Linked DNA regions of Homo sapiens: regions 1 and 2 are each linked to region 3. The links are contacts of gene promoters, found by promoter capture Hi-C in human tissues and cell types (Jung and others, 2019). All regions are on one chromosome and are shown on one strand. Each heading gives the region's core, a stretch centred on a gene start or on the middle of the fragment in contact. The rest is flanking DNA. Distances are from core to core; before and after follow the strand shown. Region 1 overlaps SPSB1 (splA/ryanodine receptor domain and SOCS box containing 1). Region 2 overlaps SPSB1 (splA/ryanodine receptor domain and SOCS box containing 1). Region 3 holds the start of SLC25A33 (solute carrier family 25 member 33).

What was found. The method cuts DNA at HindIII sites, captures the fragments that hold promoters and counts their contacts. A contact is called where the count stands out against the background at its distance.
Region 1: a contact is called between a fragment that was not itself captured here and the fragment with the promoter of SLC25A33 in region 3, in 2 of the 25 tissues and cell types used here (lymphoblastoid cells and mesenchymal stem cells).
Region 2: a fragment that was not itself captured here is called in contact with the fragment with the promoter of SLC25A33 in region 3 in 2 of the 25 tissues and cell types used here (bladder and thymus).

The regions. Positions count from the first base shown.
Region 1 is chr1:9,308,036-9,312,455 of GRCh38, forward strand. The region is part of intron 1 of SPSB1 (splA/ryanodine receptor domain and SOCS box containing 1); the gene reads left to right. Among named protein-coding and RNA genes, the nearest start is that of SPSB1, 17 kb to the left of the region's middle. The HindIII fragment of the contact is 5,086 bases long and covers 7-4,420 here.
Region 2 is chr1:9,329,023-9,333,927 of GRCh38, forward strand. The region is part of intron 1 of SPSB1 (splA/ryanodine receptor domain and SOCS box containing 1); the gene reads left to right. Among named protein-coding and RNA genes, the nearest start is that of SPSB1, 39 kb to the left of the region's middle. The HindIII fragment of the contact is 8,123 bases long and covers 1-4,905 here.
Region 3 is chr1:9,537,815-9,542,622 of GRCh38, forward strand. It overlaps SLC25A33 (solute carrier family 25 member 33), which reads left to right and starts at 1,651. Exons shown (of 7, transcript NM_032315.3): 1 at 1,651-1,933. The coding sequence starts at 1,878. RefSeq lists silencers at 1,407-1,926, 1,947-2,306 and enhancers at 1,416-1,710, 2,377-2,506, 3,532-4,031. The HindIII fragment of the contact is 17,899 bases long and covers 1-4,808 here.

The DNA.
Region 1 (4,420 bases), core at 1,300-3,799, 230 kb before region 3:
ACAGTATTGCAATTTGGTGCCCCTTCCAAATCCTGTTAACCCGTCTGGGACCAGAACTTCAGCTTTAGCAAGTTACTGTCTTAATTCCATTCCTTCCAGTGTTTTCCAAGACATGTCAGGCCCAAAGGGGGTGGACTGCCTCTCATTTGACAGAGAGGATGACAGAAGTGTGCTTAGGAGCTTCTTGCCAGTGCTGTTGGGGCAGTGCTGCAGTTGCCCTGACTGGTGGCACCTAGCAAGGGGGCCATTTGCCCTGGGCCCATCCTTGGTGGGGTCATGGATACCCAGGTCCTGCATACCCAGCAGTAGGTCCTGCATACCCAGGGCCCCCGGAGCCACGGTGCCCTGACTGTGGGTCGGGGGACAGTTTCTAGAAAGCAGATGGGTGGGGTTGCCTCAGGCACGAGAGAAAACCTAAGCTGTCATCAACTGGGGGACCACTGGCCCCTTCCTTGTTGGAGCTCCCGACAACTTGTTCCTGCCTTTTCCCTCCCATGCTGGGGCCGGCATTTAGTTTAGGGTGTCTCAGATCCCATCTGCTGTGAGTGTGATTCTGCCTGAAATAGTCTTCACATGTATTGATTGAATGTGTGCCATGAGCCAGGCGCTATGCTTGCCACTGTAGATGGGTTTTTAACCCCTTAAACAGTCCTGTGAGTTAGATGTTACCTCCCGGTTTACAGATGAGAAAGGAGGACTTTTTTTTTAGAGAGGTTTTCTGCGTTGCAGGAAGTGGCATGACTCCCTGGATGCTGGAAGGTGGGCCTGACCCCACAGCCTGTGTTTTTTTCTACTGCGACAGTGGAACGTGCCAGTCCTGTTGATTGGGCACCTGCTATTGCCAAGCACAGCTTGGGAGGCGTGTGATGCACCTCCAGGCCCCTGAGAGCCTGTGGCCCAGCAGGTGTATGCAGGAAACATGAGCTCCCTGCCAGGGGCTGGGCGGGCACCAGGCCTGCGTGGGTACAGAGGGCCTCCTGAGACTGTCAGGAGGGTTTGTTCTAGGCTGGGGGGTTTCATGGTAGGGGACCAGGAGATTGACTGCCATGAGGAGGACCGGGAGAAGGCTGCAGAGCTGTGTAGCAGGGAGGGCATCAAATGCCAGGCCCAGGGGTCGTCGGTGGGCATGGGGTGTCCTTGCACTTCCATGCCATTCACCTCCAAAGTTGTTCCTGAGATGTGCAGATAAGCTAGATCCCCCCTCAATTCCTGTGTGCTCCCCTGCGGAGAGAGAGAGAGAGAGAGTGTGAGAGAGAGAGAGAGAGAGTGTGTGTGTGTGTGTGTGTGTGTGTGTGTGTGAGTGACAGATTCTCTCTCTGTCACCCAGGCTGGAGTGCAGTGGTGCGGTCACAGCTCACTGCAGCCTCGAACTCCTGGGCTCAAGCGATCTTCCCACCTCAGCATCCTGAGTAGCGGGAATTATAGGTATGTGTCACCATACCTGGCTAATTTTTAAAAGTTTTTGTAGAGATGGGGTCTCGCCATGTTGCCTAGGCTCTCCCTTGCATTTAAAACGTGGTAATCAGGCCAGGCACAGTGGCTCACGCCTGTAATCTCAGCACTTTGGGAGGCCGAGACGGGTGGATCACCCGAGGTCAGGAGTTTGAGACCAGCCTGACCAACACAGTGAAACCCCGTCTCTACTAAAAATATAAAAATTAGTCGGGGATGGTGGTGCATGCCCATAATCCCACTACTTGGGAGGCTGAGGCAGGAGAATCGCTTGAACCCAGGAGGCAGAGTTTGCAGTGAGCCAAGACTGCACCATTGCACTCCAGCCTGGGCAATAGTGTGTGACTTTGTCTCAAATAAATACAGTAGAGTAGAGTAGAATAAAATAGTGGTAACTGGGGGCCCTGACCAGTCTCCCTTGGGAGACCCAATTCAACTTCCTGGTCATTTTGTTTGGCTGTGCCTGGAGCTCTTATCTGTCTTCTTGGGGGTTTGGCTGTGGGTCTGCCCGAGGTCCTGGGCTTCTGGCTGGGGTAGTGTTGCCTGTTGCCCTAAAGCTCTCCTCAGGTGGGGGATGGTGAGGGGCCTGTGATGATGCCTCTGCACCTGCCGTGGGAAGGCCACAGAGTCTAGGGGCCATCTGTGATGATGCCTCTGCACCTGCCGTGGGAAGGCCACAGAGTCTAGGGGCCATCTGTGATGATGCTCCTGCACCTGCCGTGGGAAGGCCACAGAGTCTAGGGCCCGTGCTGGTGGGACTTGCCTCTTGGGTTGATCCCAGGAAGCTTCAAGCAAACTCAAGATTCACAGGATTCAGACAACGGTAATTTCTGTGAGGGGAAAGGCATCTCATGTGAGGTTCTTGGGGCGCCTTCCTGGATTTCTAAGGGATGAGCTCCTGGATAGATCAAGAAGACCTAAAGGGCCGGGCACAGTAGCTCATGCCTGTAATCCCAGCACTTTGGGAGGCCGAGGCAGGCAGATCACTTGAGGCCTGGAGTTCCTGACCAGCCTGGGCAACATGGTGAAACCCCGTCTCTACTAAAAATACAGAAAAATTAGCTGGATGTGATGGTGCATGCCTGTGATCCCAGCTACTCTGGAGGCTGAGGCAGGAGGATCACTTGAGTTTGGGAGGTCGAGGCTGCAGTGAGTTGTGATTGCACCACTGCACTACAGCCTGGGCAATGGGAGTTAGACCTTGTCTTAAAAAAAAAAAAAGAGAGACCTGGGCAGCAGGACCTTGTCACCTCATTCCTCTGCAGATGGGGGTTGGGGGAGATTCTCAAGTGTTTCTCCTGTCTGAGGGTCTTCTCATTTGGAGATTTGAAGAAAGTGCTAATGAGAAAGGTTGCCTTGCATTTATGAAGCTTGGGGAAGTCATCCTAAGGGGGCCACAGCGTGCTTAATTTATTCCAATTCCGTAATATATAAATTATACGTACATGTCAGGGTTCTTCTAAAAACACTTCGCCATCTTTGGAAAAATGGAATGTTCAAAAAGATAAATATTTTCCCCCCTTCTTCTAATTGTATCCTATCGGGCCAATTTGGAGCTGGTCAGTGTGAACAGATCCTTTCTTCTCCCGCCTCTAGCCTCCCAGGCTCCCTGAAAGCCAAGTCCTTACCCCCACGCCACTCTCAGGGGTGTCTAGACAGCGCAGGATAAAGGGTTTTTTTTTTTTTTTTTTAATGCCTTCATCATGCAGCCAGTATTCCCTGAATGCCCGCTCTGTCCTGGCTGTCACAGTGCCTATGCTGAGAGAGCTATGCCCAGACAGGGCCGACCCAGGAGGCTGCGTCTGAGCCGAGTCCTGACCCATGACTGGGGTTTCTTTCTTCCCCCTGATGGGTCTCGGCGTGGCTGAGGTTTTGCTTTGCTGTCTGCATTTATGGAGATTTTTATAATGGAAAATTTCAAACACAGGGCAGAGTAGAGAGACTGGTGTCCTGAACCCCATACCCACACCACCCAGCACCAACAAATATTCGCTGGTCTCTTCACCATGCATGGGACATCTTCTTTTCTGGAAAGACCGATCGGGCTTAGAAATAGCATCAAAGTCCTGGAAAAGGATCAGACTTGAACCAACGCTTGAGCCAGAGCAGTCTCACTCTTATCTCTAGGCTTTTTTTTATGGGGCAGGGGAGCATTCTGTAGAAGATTTAACTCCCGCTGCTTCTGGCAAAGAGCAGGAATAGATAAGGGTCAGCACCCAGGATGTTTCTGCCGGGGGTTGCCGAGTGGTAGACGTGAAACGTGGCTTTATCTACCACGTTTTGTGTGTTTGGGATGGGACCTCTATTTTCTCCCTGAAAAGGTGGGTTTGGTGCATCCCTGGGGGGTATGAATTTTCTTGGTGGCACTGAGCCCTGTTTCATCCTCTGCCAGATGAAATAGCTATGCTCAGACAAAGCAGGGAAATGGGACTGGTTTTCTCTCCTTAAGCCAGTGGCTAAGTATTGAGATACAGGAGACCTCATGCAGATGACGTTTTTGTCTTGGTGTAACCGTTGGCCCTGCCTGTCTCTGTCACCCAGGCTGGAGTGCAGTGGCGTGATCATAGCTCACTGCACCTCAAACTCCTCAAGTGATCCTCCCTCCTCAGCCTCCTGAGTAGCTGGGACCACAGACACATGCCACCACGCTTGGCTAATTTTTATTTTATTTTAATTTTTTAATTTTTTAATTTTTTTCGAGGCAGAATCTCGCTCTGTCACCCAGGCTGCAGTGCTATGTTGCTCAGGTTGGTCTCGAACCCGTCCTGGGCTCAAGCAGTCTTCCCAACTTGGCCTCCCAAAGCTCTGGGATTACAGGCACGAGCCATTGTGTCCGGTCTGTCTGGTTTTTTATGAGACAAAGCAGGGAGTCCCTGACCTTCCTGAATATTGTAGGCAGTGAGCGCTAACACAGGGTTCTTTCGTAACAGCCCTGTGGAGGTATTATGCACACGCCACGCAGTTCGCC
Region 2 (4,905 bases), core at 271-2,770, 210 kb before region 3:
CTGCATTTGCTGGAATTTGCCAGTAAAGGGCAGAAAGACTTGCTGGAGCTCTGGCAGATGTGTAGGAGTTCGCGTGGGGGACAGGGTGGCGGGGACAGCCTCCCAAGGGGGAGAATTGAAGACACCTAAGGGCAGTTGTATGAAGCAGTGTGAGGGGCACTGCAGGTGGTTCAGTCTGCATGGGGCCCGAGCACAGCCGGTTGAGGGTTTGTGGGTGGGGGGAAATGCAGCTGGAGAGGGAGGAAAGGTGAGATCCCGGATGGGTGGATGGGTGGACAGGTGGACAGGCGGATGGGTGGACGTGTGTGAGTGTCTCAGTCCAGGAACTTCATGCCAAGGGCTGGAGGGCAGTGATGGAGAGGTCAGGGGAGGTGACACCCGGTGGTGGGTAGGTCAGGTGAGAGGATCCGAGGAAGGGAGTAGGGAAGAGAGCCTTTGGGAAGATGGGCATGGCCACCCATCAGAAGTTAGTGCTGGACAGCCTGGCCAACACAATGAAACCCCGTCTCTACAAAAAATGCAAAAATTAGGCACAGTGGCATGCGCCTGTAGTCCCAGCTACTCAGGAGGCTGAGGCAGGAGAATCCCTTGAACCAGGATGGGGAGGTTGCAGTGAGCCGAGATCACACCACTGCACTCCAGCCTGGGTGACAGAGTGAGACCTCATTTCAAAAACAACAACAAAAAAAAAAAAAAAAAAGAGAAAAGAAAGAAAGAAGTTAGTGCTGGAGTCCAGGAGACTTCCCAGATCTCGGCATCGGACACATGGCGGTGGGGCCGTGGGGATGGTAGGCTTGGGTGTGGAGGTAGAAGAGAGCGTTCTGTGGGTAACGTGACTCTGCAGACATTTCTTCTCAAAACTTGGATACTATGAGGCCTTTGGAATCTTTTCTGGGACTGATTCCTAGAGTCCAGGGAGAAAATTGCTGTGGATGACAGGACAGCGGGTTCAGAGTGGCCCAGGAGCAGGTGACTGCACATTTTTGCAAAGAGCAAAAGGGAAACCTGACCATCTGCATGGGTCTCTTACCTCCATTCTGAGGACACAAGGCATCTCTTCTCACTGTAGTTTGTCAAAGATCAGTGGCGTAAATAATTGCTAGGTGCTTGCTCATCGAGAAGAATCTGAATGACACCTGATATGTACACATAAAGATGTACCAGGCTGGGCACGGTGGCTCACGCCTGTAATCCCAGCACTTTGGGAGACTGAGGCGGGCGGATCACCTGAGGTCAGGAGTTTGAGACCAGCCTGGGCAACACGGTGAAACCCCGTCTCTACTAAAAATACAAAATACAAAATTAGTCGGGCGTGGTGGTGCATCTCTACTACTCAGGAGGCTGAGGCAGGAGAATCGCTTGAACCCGGGAGGCGGAGGTTGCAGTGAGCCAAGATTGTGTCACTGCGCTCCAGCCTGGGCGACAGGAGCTAAATTCTGTCTCAAAATAATAACAATAATAATAATAATAATAAAGATTTGCCAGTCTCCTTACTCCTACCACCCCAAGGGAACCACAGTAACATCCTGCCAGCTGGACCTTGTGATCTGGACACACGTATCCCTAACTTCACCCGACACGTTTGGGGGAGTATTTTGGGTTTGCCTGTCCTCTTCCTTTCCTCCCCTCCTTTTTCTCTCCCTTCCCAAACTGATGTTAGACTGGAGCATGTTCTTCTGAACTTTTTTTTTTTTAATCGTGGTAAAACATACAAAAACCTAAAATTTACCATCTTAACCATTTAAGACGTGCAGTTCAGTAGCGTTGAGTACATTACCGGATCGTACGATCATTTTGAGTTTGAGGAACCACCCTACTGTGTCCAGCGGCTGTGCCATTTTGCGTTTCCATCAGTGATACCCAAGGGTTCCGGTTTCTCCACATCCTTGCCAACACTTGTAATTTTCTGCGTCTTTTTTTTTTACATACTTAAAAAAAAATCCTAAATCTTTTATTGAAGGATGATATACCCAGAGTAGTTCCATACCTCCCTGCCTGCACTGACCTGTATGTCTGCATCTTTGGGGATGCCATTATTTTATTAGAATGGGCTCTCCTTTCATATTCTGTCGTGCTCTCCCCGCTGAATGCTTGTGGAAGTGTCTCCAGGCTCACTGATGTGGTTCTACCTCGTCTTTTTAATTGCTGTGTAACAACGGTTCATGGTGCAAACATATCAGAGTGGTCTGCCTAAGTGACCTTTGTCAATGACTGTGCACTCGATTTGGAGTGGCAGGAAGTGGCCGCACCTCTGTCATAAATACCCGTTATGGATCTCCTTCTGCTACTGGTGCTCTTGTTTTTTTTTTTTTTTTTTTTTTTTTTGAGGTGGAGTTTCACTCTTGTTGCCCAGGCTGGAGTACAGTGGTACGATCTTGGCTCACTGTAACCTCTGCCTCCTGGGTTCAAGCGATTCTCCTGCCTCTGCCTCCTGGGTAGCTGGGATTACAGGCATGCGCCACCATGCCCGACTAATTTTTTGTATTTTTAGTAGAAACGGGGTTTCATCATGTTGACCAGGCTGGTCTTGAACTCCTGACCTCAGTTGATCCACTGCCTTAGCCTCCCAAACTGCTGGGATTACAGGCGTGAGTCACCGTGCCTAGCCGGCACTCATTCTTATGGGCTCACGCACCAGGGGTGGAATTGTTGGATCAGTTGCCATTCATTTCCCCGAAGCTGCCGGATTCAGATCCCACCAGCCACGTTGGTACTTGCTCTCCGCTTCCTGTGTGTAGACAGGAGGCACCATCTCTGTATTGACTCTGTAGCAATCTGGAGGGTGCAACGTGCGATCTCATTACTGCTTTTCTTTTATGTCCTTTTGTCTCCATGGGAGGTTGAGCTTCTTTTCCTACAAGTTTACTTACTGTTTGCATTTACTTTTTCTTTGCATTGTCTGTTCCAGTCCTCTGGCTATTTGACTATTGTGTAATAAAAGGACCAAAAACAAATGTGCCAAACTGTTGACAGTTTGAGTGTTGAAAATATGTGACTCTTTTGTACGTGTTTGAATTACAGATTTTCAAAATTTAAAAAAGCCTTGGCCAGACGAGGTGGCTGATGCCTATAAATCCCAGCACTTTGGGAGGCCAAGGTGGGAGGATTGCTTGAGGCCAGAAGTTTGAGAATAGCCTGGGCAACATAGTGAGACCCCACCTCTACCAAAAAAAAAAAAAAATCTCAATGAGAGCGTTTTAGGAAGATTTGTTTGAGTGGGCTGAGATCTAAGGGACTTGGAGACTCTTGCAGTGGCCTTGCAAGTGATGACTTAAACAGTGAGAGTGAAGGTGGGATTCAGCAACTATGGGGGCAGCAATTTACAATGTTTGGCGCTAATGTGGGAAGCCAAGAAGAGGAGGAATTGAGGGAGATGAGGGGTTTGAATCTGGGTGAACTAGAGGTTGATGATAGAAATTGGCAGCATTGTAGAGGCCAGGAGGGGGCCATTTGAGTCTACAAGGGATGTATGAGTGGGAGCAGGGTCACTGCTGGGGAGATGATATTTGGTGGACACGTCAGGTTCACAGGCAGACACTCCCTGGAGCCATGAGAGCAAAGGATCCCACGGAGGGAGGTCCTGTGGAGGGAGAGACCCTCAAAAACATCTGTGTGTAAGGAGCAGGAAGAACAGGCGGAGGAGCTGAGACAGAACCTTAGAGAGTGAGTCAGATACTGTCACAAAACTAGGAGCGTTTCAGGTCAAGGGCATGGTGGTATTTTCAGATACAGTTGAGAGGTAGAGAGAGGATGCTTGTTTTTTGGGCCCGTTCAATTTATCGATTAGGAGGTCATGATCTTGGAAGAGCATTTTCCCTGCAGGGTCTAGGCCTGAGGTCAGCTTGCTGCTTCTGCAGCCTGAGTGCGTAGAGGGTGACGGAGACCACAGGAAGTGTGGTGGCAGCAGGAGAGGGCATCGGCTGTGGGTGGTTCTGGCCTGGGCCCCATCCTGGGCTCCGTGGCTGAGACTTGGTTTCAGTGCTCTCCACCAGCAAGTGCTCACTGAGCTTCTGCCCTCGTGGGCTGCGTCAGGCACCCAGCAAACCCCCAGGGTCCAAGAATCAGCCTCCCAGGTGCACACTCCATGGGAAAATGGCCAGAAACATGGAACCCACCTTCTTCGGTGAGAACCTTGGTCTGCCCTGTTCAGTGTCTGCTCCCAGAGGGACCAGCACAGCCATCTGTCACTTCCTGGACAGCAGCCTGTCCCTAATTCTTAGCCATTTAGGGCCTGGTCTTATATGCATTTATCTCCTTTTTCAAGTCCACTTCTACTTCCTGTCAGTTCTGTCTTCTTGTCAGCTTCTTTTTTTTTTTTTTTTTTTTAAGGCAGAGTCTCACTCTGTTGCCCAGGCTGGAGTGCAATGGTGTGATCTCGGCTCACTGCAACCTCCGCCTCCCAGGTTCAGGCGATTCTTCTGCCTCAGCTTCCCAAGTAGGTGGGACTACAGGCGCGTGCCACTATGCCTGGCTAATTTTTGTATTTTTAGTAGAGACGGGGTTTCGCCATGTTGGGCAGGCTGGTCTCGAACTCTTGACCTCAGGTGATCCGCCCACCTCGGCCTCCCAAAGTGCTGGGATTACAAGCGTGAGCCACCATGCCCGCCCTCCTTGTCAGCTTCCTGAAGCGCCTGCGGTGTGAGCCTGCTGTGAACAGCCTCATCCAGTGTAGGCTGACCCCAGAGCGGCCCGGGGAAGAGCACAGTCATTTTTTTATTCCAACGGAAAGGAAACGAGGTTGCCAAAGAGACCCAAGGAGCCCACGGGCCAAATCAATAGCAACATTCTCCCTCTGCCCAGCTGGCTTTCCTCTCCAGCGCGGCTCCGGGGAAAACAGCTCAAGGTAGAGAGGACCTGGCTGTTGGCTGGCTCAGAGGCAGGTGGGGCCTGGCCAGGGATGCTCCG
Region 3 (4,808 bases), core at 401-2,900:
TGGGATGACAGGAGTGGGCCACTGTGCTGGGTTTTCTTTACTTCTTTTTCTCAGATATCTCATGCCCTAGTATGGCTTCCCCTTCTCCTAGGCCTGGGAGCAATGGCTTTAATAGTAACCACTGTATTTGCATTTTGGAGGACTGCTCCTAAGAGCTGTTTTTATTTAAAGAGTCCCAGCAATCAAATACAGATTGGCTGGCTAGCTCCCACGTTTCCACACAATTCCCTCCTACTTAAGCTCTCTATGTTTACACACAGGACATCTAACTGCTTGTTCTGGTCAAGGTACAGCTTTCCGGAGCTCTGAGAGACGGAAGAGAAAGGGTTGGTACGTTCTGCAGGTGAATGGTGGTCTGCTGAGAGAGAGACAGACAGAGAGACATAGTCCAAGGTAACAGGAAAGCTTCTGGCACTGGTGCCTGTGCAGTCAGTGGTGTCACTGCCAGGACAGGAAATAGAGGTAGAGCAGGTTTGGGGGAGGGGAAGAATGATAAGTTCAATTTGGGACCTTTATTCATTAGCTCCTTGGGCATTACTAGGTGGCAGGTACTGTGTCAGGAACAACTGTGAACAAAAGAAATAAGGTCCCTGCTCTCCTGAAGCTTACATTCCTGTATGGGAAGGACAACTTAAATAAATCAACAAACTAACTGCAGAAGCCCTGGTTCTATAGTCGTGTGACAGACTGCGCTGCAAAGGCGGCCAGGAAAGTCTCCATCTGGGGGAGACCTGGAGATTAGAAGATGTCAGGTTGAGTATGACAATGACCCAGTGACATAGGCTGAGAGAAGCAGTTTGGATATCTAGGTCTGGGCTGGAGATGATCAGAAAAGAAGCAAAAAGCATACTGCAAAATATACGCAGCATATACTACTACTTATAGGGAGATCAAAAATCCACATAATGATAATGATTATTAATTATTTGAGACAGAGTCTCGCTTTGTCGTCCAGGCTGGAGTGCAGTGGCAAGATCTTGGCTCACTGCAGCCCCCGCCTCCCGGGCTCAAGCGATTATCCAGCCTCAGCCACCCAAGTAGCTGGGATGACAGGGGTGCGCCGCCTCGTCCGGCTAACTTTTGTATTTCTAGTAGAGACACGGTTTCGCCGTCTTGGACAGGTTGGTCTGTAACTCCTGGCTTCAGGCGATCCGCCCGCCCGCCTCGGCCTCCCAAAGTGTTGAGATTGCAGGCGTGAGCCACCGTGAGGGCCTCACTGATTATCTAAGGCTGTTTAGATTATAGATTTTTAGATTATGTTTTTGTTTCCCTAAACGGGGTGGTGAGTACAGAGGTGTGAGATGTAACACGTAATTTGTACACCTTTTGCACACGTAAATATCACAAAGTAAACTTTTAAAATAAGGCAAGGCCTAGGGCCTCGCGAGGCTTCTCTGAGGAGCGAGGACCAGTCAGTCACAGCCAGTTTCCACTGCCTCCACGCTCCGGCCTAGGCCAGCCCCTCTCCCCAGTCATTCGCTCGGGGCTGGCTCCGCCCCAGAACTGCGCAACCTCCCCGCCCACATCCGCGTCCTAACCAATGAGCGCTCGAAATTTGGGTCCACACCCCCGTCACGCCCCGCCCCAGACTCGCGCGCCCGTGACGTCACGGTCCGGCCCCCGCCACGTGACGGCCGCGCGCCGGGCTCTAGCTCCCCGCCGGGCTCGCGCCGCAGAGGCCGGTGAGGCGCCGGCGGCCACGCCGCGGAAGGCGCGGGCCGAGCAGAGCCGGGCGTTGGAGCCCGCGCGCGCATGGAGGCGTTGCCGGCAGCCCCCTGAGGGCAGCGGGGAGACAAGACCCGGCGACCTCGCGCATCCCTCGAGCCGCCACGCGCTCTCGCCACCGGGCGGCGACGGGCCGCGGAGCCGGCGCGGCCATGGCGACGGGCGGCCAGCAGAAGGAGAACACGCTGCTTCACCTCTTCGCCGGCGGGTGAGTTCCCGGGCCCAGCCGCGCGCGCCCCACCGCCTGCGGTCCCCTCGGCCTTCGCCCCGGGCGCGGCCCCAGCCTCCCGCGGCGGTTACCGGCCTTCCCCGGGCTACGGCGCCGGCGCTCGGGAGGAGGAAGTCCCGGCGTCGGGGACTGGTGGGCAGGGCCGAGGGAGGGGGTCGGGCCTTCCTCACCCCTACGTCCTGACCGCAGCCCCGAGGGCGGCTGTGCCCCGCCGCCCGTCCTCCCCGCGGCGTCCCCAGCTTTTCCCCATTCTGAAGAGTCAGTGGCCGGTGAGTGGTGCTCGGCGGCGGTCCAGCCTGGACGCTGTGGCGCGGCCCCCCCTCCCCCGCCCCCTTCTCCTGGGGCCTCTCCCGAAGCGCAGCGCCTCAGAGCCCGTGGTAGGATCGCTGATGCTCGGGTGTGCCCGAGGTTCCTCAGGGCAGCGCGGGAGGTCATCCGGACGGGCAAAAAGGTCTGCGGACGTTGGACGTCAGCAAGGCCTGGGTGGTGCTGGTGAACGGTGATGCTTGCGGCCACACGCGGGGTGGCTAAGCCAGGGACCCGAACTCATATGAGGTCTGGAAGGTGTGTTGAGACACTTCTCGCCGGCTGGTAGACGCTTCCAACGCCAGAGACCGCAGAATTGTAAGGTGTTCCTTGTTTTGAAAGCTGCATTAGGTCTATGGTCAGGCACCTTTTTTCCAGCGGAGACAATGCATTTTTAGGAGGTTGAGTTCTGCGGTTAGGAAGGGAGATGGTACCCCTCGCCACCTCCCCTTGTCACCTCCCGCCGAGAATAGAAGGTAAAATATTTTTGAGTATTAGTAATTTTCTTTTTTCCTTTATCACAGCCGGTGGCTTGGGGTCCTTTCGGAGTCTTACAGATATTTGGAGTATTAATTTGAGGACCTCATCGGCCTGGCACAGGAATTTTTGAGTGTAGGATATTTTGCATAAAATAGTTTATTCTGGGATGATCATCTTGGCTTGAGTAGTTGCAGCCTGGATTCCTACCTGGATATGTTCCTTACAACAAACAATGGTTGAGAAACTTATCTTGGAAGATGACTGATGAAAGCGTCCCTGAGCTTTTTTTGTACTTGTATTGTGGGCAGTCACCAGGTTACTTTAACCAAAAACTTCGGTGGGTCTTCATAGATTGGAAGAGTTTCTCATTCATCTCTTCCCTGTCATTCATTCCCTTGCAACCCTTCCCTCCATGTCTCCATTGAGACTTCCTTTTTTTTTTTGAGAGGGAGTCTTCCTCTGTCGCCCAGGCTGGAGTGCAGTGGTGCGATCTTTGGGCTCACTGCAACTTCCGCCTCCCGGATTCAGGCGATTCTCCTGCCTCAGCCTCCCGAGTAGCTGGGATTACAGGCCCCGCCACCAAGCCTGGCTAATTTTTTTTTTCTTTTTTTTTTTTTGAGACGGAGTTTCGCTCTGTAGCCCAGGCTGGAGTGCACTGGCGCCATCTCAGCTCACTGCAAGCTCCGCCTCCCGGGTTCACGCCATTCTCCTGTCTCAGCCTCCCGAGTAGCTGGGACTACAGGCACCCGCCACTACGCCCAGCTTTTTGTATTTTTAGTAGAGACGGGGTTTCACCGTGTTAGCCAGGATGGTCTCGATCTCCTGACCTCGTGATCCGCCCGCCTCGGCCTCCCAAAGTGCTGGGATTACAAGTGTGAGCCACTGCGCCCGGCCACGCCCAGCTAATTTTTTTGTGTTTTTGCTAAGAGGCGGAGTTTTGCCATGTTGGCCAGGCTGGCACTCCTGACCTCAAGTGATGGCCCACCTTGGCCTCCCAAATTGCTGGGATTACAGGCGTGAGCCACCATGCCCGGCAGAGACTTCCTTTCAGAGTAACACAAGGGGGAAGCATTCTTAAATTAAGCCACTCTATATAAATTTGTCTTTCTTGGGAATTTTAAACAACTTGGCCATTTTTTTTTTTGTCTCACACGTTTTTTAAGCCAAGAAGGATCATTTAAAAAAAAAAAAAAAAGGAATTTCTGCTCAGTGATTTTGACTTACTGTTTTTAGTGAGGTGGGTTTTTGCTTTTTGTTTTTTTTCAGACGGAGTCTTGCTCTGTCTCCCAGGCTGGAGTGCAGTGGCGCCATCTCGGCTCACTGCAAGCTCCGCCTCCTGGGTTCACGCCATTCTCCCGCCTCAGCCTCCCGAATAGCTGGGACTACAGGTGCCCGCCACCACGCCCGGCTAATTTTGTATATTTTTAGTAGAGACGGGGTTTAACCGTGTTAGCCAGGATGGTCTCGATCTCCTGACCCCCTCTGCCCACCTCGGCCTCCCAAAGTGCTGGGATTGCAGGCATGAGCCACTGCGCCCGGCCAGTGAGGTGGTCTTTTACAATTTTTCTTTGTATTCCAAACCAGGAGAGTTGCATGCTGGAGCAGCCTCTGTTGAGGCTCACTGTGAGATGGATGGCCCTGTCTTGTTGAATCTCCCTCTGTACCCTTCCCTGTGCCCTCTGGCTGCCAGATTCTCCTCCTAGGGCACCAGCCTTATACCTTGTGATGGAGTACATCTGCAGTGGCCAGCACAGCTCTCCTGCTTGATTAAGATGTAGGTAGTTCATTAGGGTGGCGCCTGAAGCCATTGTATTTAACAAGTTTCCGTTCCTGTCTTGGCAGCAATTGGAGACTCAAGAAAGAAAAGACAGCTTCCAAAAGTATGTTTTCAGAGTAACTAATTGGATTTTGATCCACTCTCACTAGCCTAAAATATTTTACTTTCTGTTAGGGAAGAACATGAAAGGAGCTGAGTGTAAAATGGCTGTATTGTATGGTTAAAATGAGGCCACCCAGAGGTCCCACCTAGTCCGGTGGAATATGTGCTGCCTTGCTCCAAGTAACTAGT